Linked DNA regions of Homo sapiens: region 2 is linked to region 1. Evidence: promoter capture Hi-C in 16 types of primary human blood cells and fetal thymus (Javierre and others, 2016). All regions are on one chromosome and are shown on one strand. The core of a region is centred on a gene start or on the middle of the fragment in contact, and the rest is flanking DNA. Distances in the headings are between cores, read along the strand shown.

Region 1 (3,928 bases), core at 1,362-3,861:
GGCCCTGCCCATCACTTCTGGCCCTCTGACCTCCTCCCCAACTAATTTGCTCACCAGCTGGCCCCAGAGCTCCACCTAAGAAAGGGAAGGGTCCATGTGCAGAACATTGCCTCCTGCCGACTTAGCTCTCCACCCATCCCCACCCCCAAGCCTAGCTCATCCATCTTCCTCCTCCTGCCCTTGGGTGATACCAGAGAGCTGAATGATACAATCCTCCCCAATTCTTTGTCTCAGGCCAGTGGGCTTGAGCCCTGGAAACTCTGTTGAAGCCAGTGGCATCTTCCAGACTCTGGACTAAGCATAATTGGTTTTTAATGGGCCCCATTATAATCCTATGCTTAGTACGCATCATGAGCACCTGAACTCCATGACTAAATGATTTATCGAGAGTTGCCTGGGGCCTTTCTGGGGCCACTGCCCCATCTCTCTTTCCTTCCTGGTCTTGTTGGAAGCTGCTGGCCTCTCTTTCACCAGGAGGCAGTGACTCATCAACTCCAACCCAATGTCCCAGCCAGAGCCAGCCTCACATACAGTATTCCACTCAATTCTTGGAATCTCTGAGCTGAAAGATGATTGTAATTTAATCATGGCAAAAGGGTCTCACCTCCTTTGCCAACACTGATCAACTGGTACTTAAAGAGCTGGGTTGAGCATTCTGGGGCCACATCCAGGCTCCAGAGGGAAGAGCTCTGGGGTCAACTAGGGATGTCCACCATGGATGGAGTGAGGGAGGGGGGATAGAAGGAGCTCCAGGAAGATGAATACACTTTCCATCTAGGATCTGATGTCTCAGTCATTCAGGCACAGAGTGTGTGGTAGGCAGGACCTACTGCTCTGAGGAACAGATCCTCCCAAGAAGCCAAGAGGACCCAGAAGACCCAGGAATTGAATCCAATCCAACACATAGTCCATTTACATAGGCATGACAACTCCAATGCTGACATTTCACAGACGGAGAAACAGAGCTTCAGAGAGAGGAACCCAGCAAGTTAGTTACAGACCTGACAATGGGCATCATCATCAACTTTTTTCCTTCCTCAGAAACTAACCTTCGCACTGTCAAGTTTAAGTCTGATAGGTTATCAAAGGCCCAGGGAAGAGGGATCATCTAGGTGAACTTTGAGAAGCAGATCTTGGAGGAACAAAGGCAATCCCCTCTGCACCAGGGCCATCAGGGAGGCAACCCCAGCTCTGGAAACAGGCAGTCTGGGCTGTGAGCTGGTGTTGGCAAGGCCTGGTCTTCAGAACAGACCTATCCTAGGAGCCTGAAGGGCCCAACACGTCCAGCAATGCTGTTAACTGCCAGGAGGAAATATGAAGAGGAAGCTAGACTATGATGAGGAAATTCAAATATCTGCCTTTGAAAGTTAAAAAAATATTTGATTCATAAAACTGTCACATAATGCTGAACAATTAAAACTGGCAGACACAGACTCAGAAACACCCCTTGAATACCTGTGAGTGTAGGACCCCTGGTTCTGCTGACTTGCTCATTACCGGGCCCCAGCATCTAAGACAAGTTCTTGCAGAGGGAGTTTGCTGCTCACTATATTGAGGTCGTGGGGGACACATTATCTTACTTTCTTTTTTTTTTGAGACAGGGTCTCACTCTGTTGCCCAGCCTGCAGTGCAGTGGCACCATCTTGGCTCACTGTAGCCTCTACCTCCTAAGCTCAAGCGATCCTCTCACCTCAGCCTCCCAAGTAGCTGGGACTTTGGGTGTTCCCCACCATGCCTAGCTAATTGTTGTATTTTTTTGTAGAGACGGGGTTTTGCCACATTGCCCAGGCTGGTCTCAAACTCCTGAGCTCAAGAATTCCACCCCCTTCAGCCTCCCAAAATGCTGGGATTAGAGGCGTGAGCCACTGTGCCCGACCCACATTTTCTGAGTCTACTGTTTACAAGTCCCCACTTGAGATGTGTGGTGGGAGAACAGCACACGTGGTCTCACCAACTCCTCACAGCAAGGCTGTGAGATAATTTGCATTATAATCCCCATTACACAGATCAGAAAACAGAGGTACCAAGGGCAAATTTTCTTGCTCAAGGTCATATAGCTGTTTTCACTTGAGCCAGAGCTGCTCTTGCCCTCAAGTGCTTGGGGTGGGAATCAGGCGAGGATGCAGCCGGTGGGGGCCTCTCACTCCTTCCCACGCAGGCCACAATTCCCAACTATGCCCAGAAACGTCTCTGGATCCATGGAATGTGCATGGGGTGCAAGGAGATTTTCTTTTTTCTGCCCCTGCCTTCCTGTGCCTGCCTCCTTCAGTCCTCCGAGGCACAGGGGTGAGACCTGGCCCCAGCCCAGGAGACAGCGCCTGAGCCAGCCTGGGCCATGGCCTTGCTGGGTGGCTTAAAGCTGGCTTTTTCATCCTGGGCCTCATGAATCCACACGAAGAGTTCATGTGTTCATGGTGGACTATCCAGCTGTAAAATCCTAACAATCGATGATCAAACGTCATCCCACAGACCCGTGTTTCTTGAAGCCCCCCTCATGAGCCCTGGTGTCCCAAGGCCCCAGGCTCTGCCCACTTACCTGCCATGTGAAGGCCAGCTGGACTCCTCTGTTCCTCCACACAGCAGTGTGTGCACCGTCAGGACAGTGTGGCGCGTCACAGCAGCCAGCCAGACCAATTTTAACAAGGAAAACCTTGGGACACTCCTAGGCAGGAAAGTCAGAATTCAAAAGAGGAGGCGTGGCCCTCCACCCTAGCAGCGACACCCACGAGACACAAAATCATCCTGTAATTGCACCTAGAGGGGTTCACTGTGGGAGTGGCTCCTGCCAAGAGACCTTGGAAACACGGAGTTGCGAATGGGACTGTGGAGAAACTGAGGCTCAGAAAGGTCACAAGCCTGGCAAGAAAAAGAACGGGGAAAGAGAGAAGACTGAGGGAACTCGGATTTATGGTTGGCCATTCTTAGCCCTCACAACAACCCTCAAATGAGAAAAAACAGGCTCAGCGCCAGGACCCCGAAGTACATGGTTGCACGCTGCAGTGCCGGGTCAGTCTGTGGCTCCCTCTCCCCTCCTGGGTGAGAGCAGAAGACTCCTGGGCCCACAGCTCCACTCTGTTCTGCAGGCATCTAAAGAGGCAGAGGTCCATGATCCTCCTTCAGGGCCACTAGACTTCCTTGGTGGACACTAGACTCTTGAGAGGAGGTAGATAAGAAAAAGGGGAGAGCTGGTTCTGACTCAGAAGCTAGGCCCATCTGCCCTGACTTTGTGAGTGGCCTCCAGCCAGGAGCTTAGAGGCCTGGTGGCCATGGGTGTCCCGTGACCTTGGACAAGACCTCTCCCCTCCTGGAACCCTGGTGTTTCTACCTACAAACTAAAGGGATTGGACTCAATTATTCTTCAGGGCCATTCCAGCTCAAAGTCTAAGATTCTGGGCTTGAAGGTGCTGGAATTCAAGGCATCTGAGGTCTTTTGTTAATGAAATAGAGGGGATTTTATTTTCATGGAAGCCGGTGGGGTAGGTTTCTTTTTGCCGGAGAAATGCTTTGATGGATGACTTGGGGCTATCGAAGGCTGGATGTGGCCTGGGCCAGTGAGGAAGGGGAAGTGGGAGGGGGTAGAATCGAGGGAAAGAGACAAGGAAGGGTAAGGAGACAACCGTGTGCTGAGCACAGTAGGATGAGGCCGCTCCCTGGGATCACCCCAACATTCAGGAAACTGCATAAAAACCCCAAAGTGTTTGATGTGGTTGGATTTCTTACAGAAAGTGGCAAAGAGGCTGAGTTCTGCTTCCTGGTTTCACGCAGATCAAGCGTCTTTAATGAGCTGTCTGCAGACCCACATAGCCTTATAATTACTGACATCTGGCAGCAGCCCAGGGCAGCTCCTTCCTCAACACCCTGCAGGCTGCTGCCCTGTAGACCCTGGGCCCTGCTGAAGCTGCTTTTCTGCCTATGCAGGGTCAGGCTC
Region 2 (4,023 bases), core at 984-3,483, 410 kb after region 1:
GCAGGGAGGCTGTCACTCAGAGAGGGCACAAAGGCTCTCTGGCAGGTGACATTCGACCAGAGATGTGCAGCAGGTAAGCCTGTGGGTGTCTGGGCGAGGGAGTGAGGGAAATAGCCTCCCGGGAAGAGGGAACAGCAAATGCAAAGGCCTTGAGAAGGATTTGTGGCTGTTTCTGTACTGAAGAGTAAGAAGCTAAGGCAACAAGTAAGAGCAGAGGGCGAGAATCAGGGTGCCGAAGTGGAAGAGACCAGATGGTGGAGGGCGTCCCGCACCTTGCGCTGTCCCAGTTTACACTGTCACTCCGTGTGACTGTGGAGCTGCTTTTACTCTCAAAGTATCCTGGTTTGGATAATGTATAGTATTGATGCCTCACTTATGGGCCATGGATGTTGACTTTTGACCCATGGTGAGATGGGAGCCACTGGAGGATTTTCAGCACAGGAGGGGCATGATCTGACCCAGATTTAAAGGGACTGTGCTGGCTGTTGTATAAAGAGCAGGCTGCAGGGAGCACAAGGGAACGTTCTGCGTCCCTGTCAGCGAATGGCACTCTCCAAAGTGAACATGAGAGACGGAGGTACCAGGAGGAGTGACATGGGAGCTTTTCTTTCTTGAGATCAAAGCCCCAGTCACAGTGTTCTCTCCTTAATACACAGCCACAGGCATCAGGACTCTCAGACACTGCCAGTGGTAGTGGTGGATGGCATTTAAGAAACTACCAGCCTGGAGCCCTCCTCTCCCCACTCCCGTCTCAGCCTTGAAAAATGCAGCCTCATAGTTTGAGCTTTCGGGGAGAAAAATCTCTGAATTGGGGCTTGCTTTACATAAAAGACAGATCATTGGAAAGTGTATAAATCAAAGTTTGGCAAATCGAATTGTATTTTAATCCACTGGGGAATGTTGCTATTCAAGGTCCTCACTGATTTTACAGATTGCAACAGTATCTGTTGTCCATTTAGGAACATTGGTAAAACCCAGAAATGCATCAAGAAGTTTCCCATGAAATTGATCAACAGTCAGAGGTTCAGATAAGATCATTTATGGAGCCCCTGCCCGGGCCAAGGCACAGTAAGGATTAACGCATTAATGGGGATAAATTGGAGATGAGCGCATGACCTCTGTGCTCAAGGAGTTTGCGTTCAGCAGGAAAGACCTCGCAGAGCAAATAACTATGGAAAATAAAAAGAGTTACTTTGGGAAGACTGAACAGCAAAGGTTGATGCAGGTGTCAGGAGCAGAGACCTGGCCTGGCAAGGGCTGAGGATTCCTGAGGAGGTGACTGAGACCTGCGGAGGGGCAGGACAGAGCTGGTGTGAGTAGCTGTGAGCGCAGGGAGGGCTTTGGTGGCTGGGCAGAGACACAGCAGGGAGCTTGATCACACAAGACCTCTAGGCCGTGGTCATGATGTGTGGACTCTGTCTCAGGAACAAAAGAAGGATGTGGAGAAGTTCAAGAGAGGTGGCATGGTCAGGTGTGTCGAATAAGAGTTTTCTAGAACAAGCTGAGGTATACGCATTTATACATACGTCTCCAACAAAGAAAATAAATATCATCCTTGATCTCACCTCTCAGAGTTAGCTATGATTAATATTTTAACATATATTCTCCCAGGGTGGTTCTTCGGTGTGTCTCCGAACACTGGATGATATGCCTTTCTTGTTTAACATTATAATGTCTTAAGCATTTTTATGCAATCATTATAAGTGTCAATTATAAATCTGCATAATCACAATAGTTTACAAACTGTATATACCATGGTTTACTTCAGCATTTCCTAATGAACATGGTAGTTTGCCTAGAATGTTCCAAGGTTGTGCCTTTCCTCTGGTGTCATTATTAATAGCACCTCATTCACTTTTGGAAGAGTTCTGGATGAAAAATTATATGGTCACCCTTCCTATGGGATAAACATTTGAGTTGCTTTCATTGTTATTATTATTATTATTGCATCATAAATAACCCTGTGATAAATATATTTCAGCTTGAAAACCAAATCATCACGTCATTGCTCCAAAGACTCTTAGAATTCATGTCGTGTTTCTTAAACTTCAGACATCCACATGCAATCTGTCACAGCCGACACTATCTTTTAACATTTTTCTTTAATTCGACTTACTTTTTTAAAACCATGAATGAGCTGATTTAAGAAGGAAGCTTAATGTTATTACCATGAATGGAAAACCAGTATTATATTCCATTAATAGAAGTGGCATAACAATGAATTCAAGCAACAATTCAAGGAACAATACCATGAGGAACCAGCTCTAAGCCGAAGTCTGAAGTCTGGTAGGGACAGGACAAAAGGAAGCTTTGCAAGCATTAGAGGGGTGTTAAAGACTTACTAGTCTCAGATGGAGCCTTTATCTTTAATAGAATTGGAAGGCTTTAAAGAGCATTGAAAACTTCCTCCCTCTGGGGTCCCAGGTGGCAGGTCTGCACCCAACATCACCCAAGGGAGTTGTATGTGTTAACAGCTAAGGTAGCCTCAGATCAGGACAGCCTTTATGCAGCACGGTAATGGGCTTGGAATTTACTCCTGCATTTTAAGCATAAGAGTGGCACAGTTATACCCCCTTACCACATAATAAAAGCTGCCCAGGCGCCAAGCCCTGGGCTATCAATTGATGCACCAAGTCACTCTCTAGGAGATGAGACAGGAATAAGCAAAGAAAACCCCACTGTAAGTGTATATACATTAAGGGCTGTAAGAGCTTTAATTTTTTTTTTTTTAATTAATAGGCCAGGCGCAGTGGCTCACGCCTGTTATCCCAGCACTTTGGGAGGCTGAGGTGGGCAGATCACTTGAGGTCAGGAGTTCGAAACCAGCCTGGCCAACATGGTGAAACCCCATCTCTACTAAAAGTACAAAAATTTACCCGGGGGTGGTGGCGGGCGCCTGTAATCCCAGCTACTTGGGAGGCTGAGGCAGGAGAATTGCTTGAATCCAAGAGGCAGAGGTTGGAGTGAGCCGAGATCGTGCCACTGCACTCCAGCCTGGGTGACAAGAGTGAGACTCTGTCTCAAAAAAATAAAATTAAAATAAAATAATAAAACAAAAGACTTCATTTTTTTTTCGAGACTGACTCTCACTCTGTCACTCAGCCTAGAGTGCATTGGCATGATCTTGGCTCACTGCAACCTCCTCCTCCCAGGTTCAAGCGATTCTTCTACCTCAGCCTCCCAAGTAGTTGGGATTATAGGTGCAAGCCACCATGCCCGGCTAATTTTGTATTTTTAGTAGAGATGGGGTTTCACCATGTTGGCCAGGCTGGTCTTGAACTCCTGACTTCAGGTGATCCACCCGCCTCAGCCTCCCAAAGTGCTCACAGGCGTGAGCCACTGCACCCGGCCCATTTTTTAGTTCTGTGTTTACAGAAAACTCGAATGAAAGTTCAGCGAATCCCCGTACATCTCTTCACCTCCCCCCAACACCTGCAGTTTTCCTTGTTATTAACATCTCGCATTAGTGTGAAACATTTGTTACAATTGATGAGCCAATATTGATGCACTGTTACTGGAGTTCACTCTTTGTCCCGTATATTCTATGGGTTTTGAGAAAAACCCGTAATGACATGTATCTACCTTTACAGTAACACAGAGAATAATATTAAAATACTAGTCCCACTAATATATAATATATAAATATGCTTTTATATATAATATCTAATATATAAATAAAAGTCCCACTGTCCTAAAAATCCTCTGTGTTTTGCCTATTCATCCCTCCTTCTCAAAACCCTTGGAAACCACTGATCTTTGTACTCTCGTAGTTTTGCGTTTTCCACGATGTCTTATAGTTGGAGTCACGTAGTGTGTAGCATTTTCAGATTGGCTTCTTTCACTTAGCAATATGAATTTAAGTTCCTCCATGTCTTTTTGTGGCTTCATAGCTCATTTCTTTTTAGCGCTGAATAATATTCTGTTGAGGGACGTTGCACAGTTCATCCATTCACCTCCTGAAGGACATCTTGGTTGCTTCCAAGTTTGGGCAATTATGAAGCATGCTGCTATAAACATTCATGT

What was found. Contacts are between HindIII fragments. The CHiCAGO score rates a contact against its expected background, and 5 or more counts as called.
Region 2: a contact is called between a fragment that was not itself captured here and the fragment with the promoter of TGM6 in region 1, in 1 of 17 cell types (M1 macrophages). The highest score is 5.4, in M1 macrophages.

The regions. Positions count from the first base shown.
Region 1 is chr20:2,379,584-2,383,511 of GRCh38, reverse strand. TGM6 (transglutaminase 6) reads right to left here and starts at 2,611. Exons shown (of 13, transcript NM_198994.3): 1 at 2,537-2,611. The coding sequence starts at 2,543. The HindIII fragment of the contact is 23,923 bases long and covers 1-3,928 here.
Region 2 is chr20:1,970,348-1,974,370 of GRCh38, reverse strand. All of the region lies in intron 3 of PDYN-AS1 (PDYN antisense RNA 1), which reads right to left. Among named protein-coding and RNA genes, the nearest start is that of PDYN, 22 kb to the left of the region's middle. The HindIII fragment of the contact is 154 bases long and covers 2,157-2,310 here.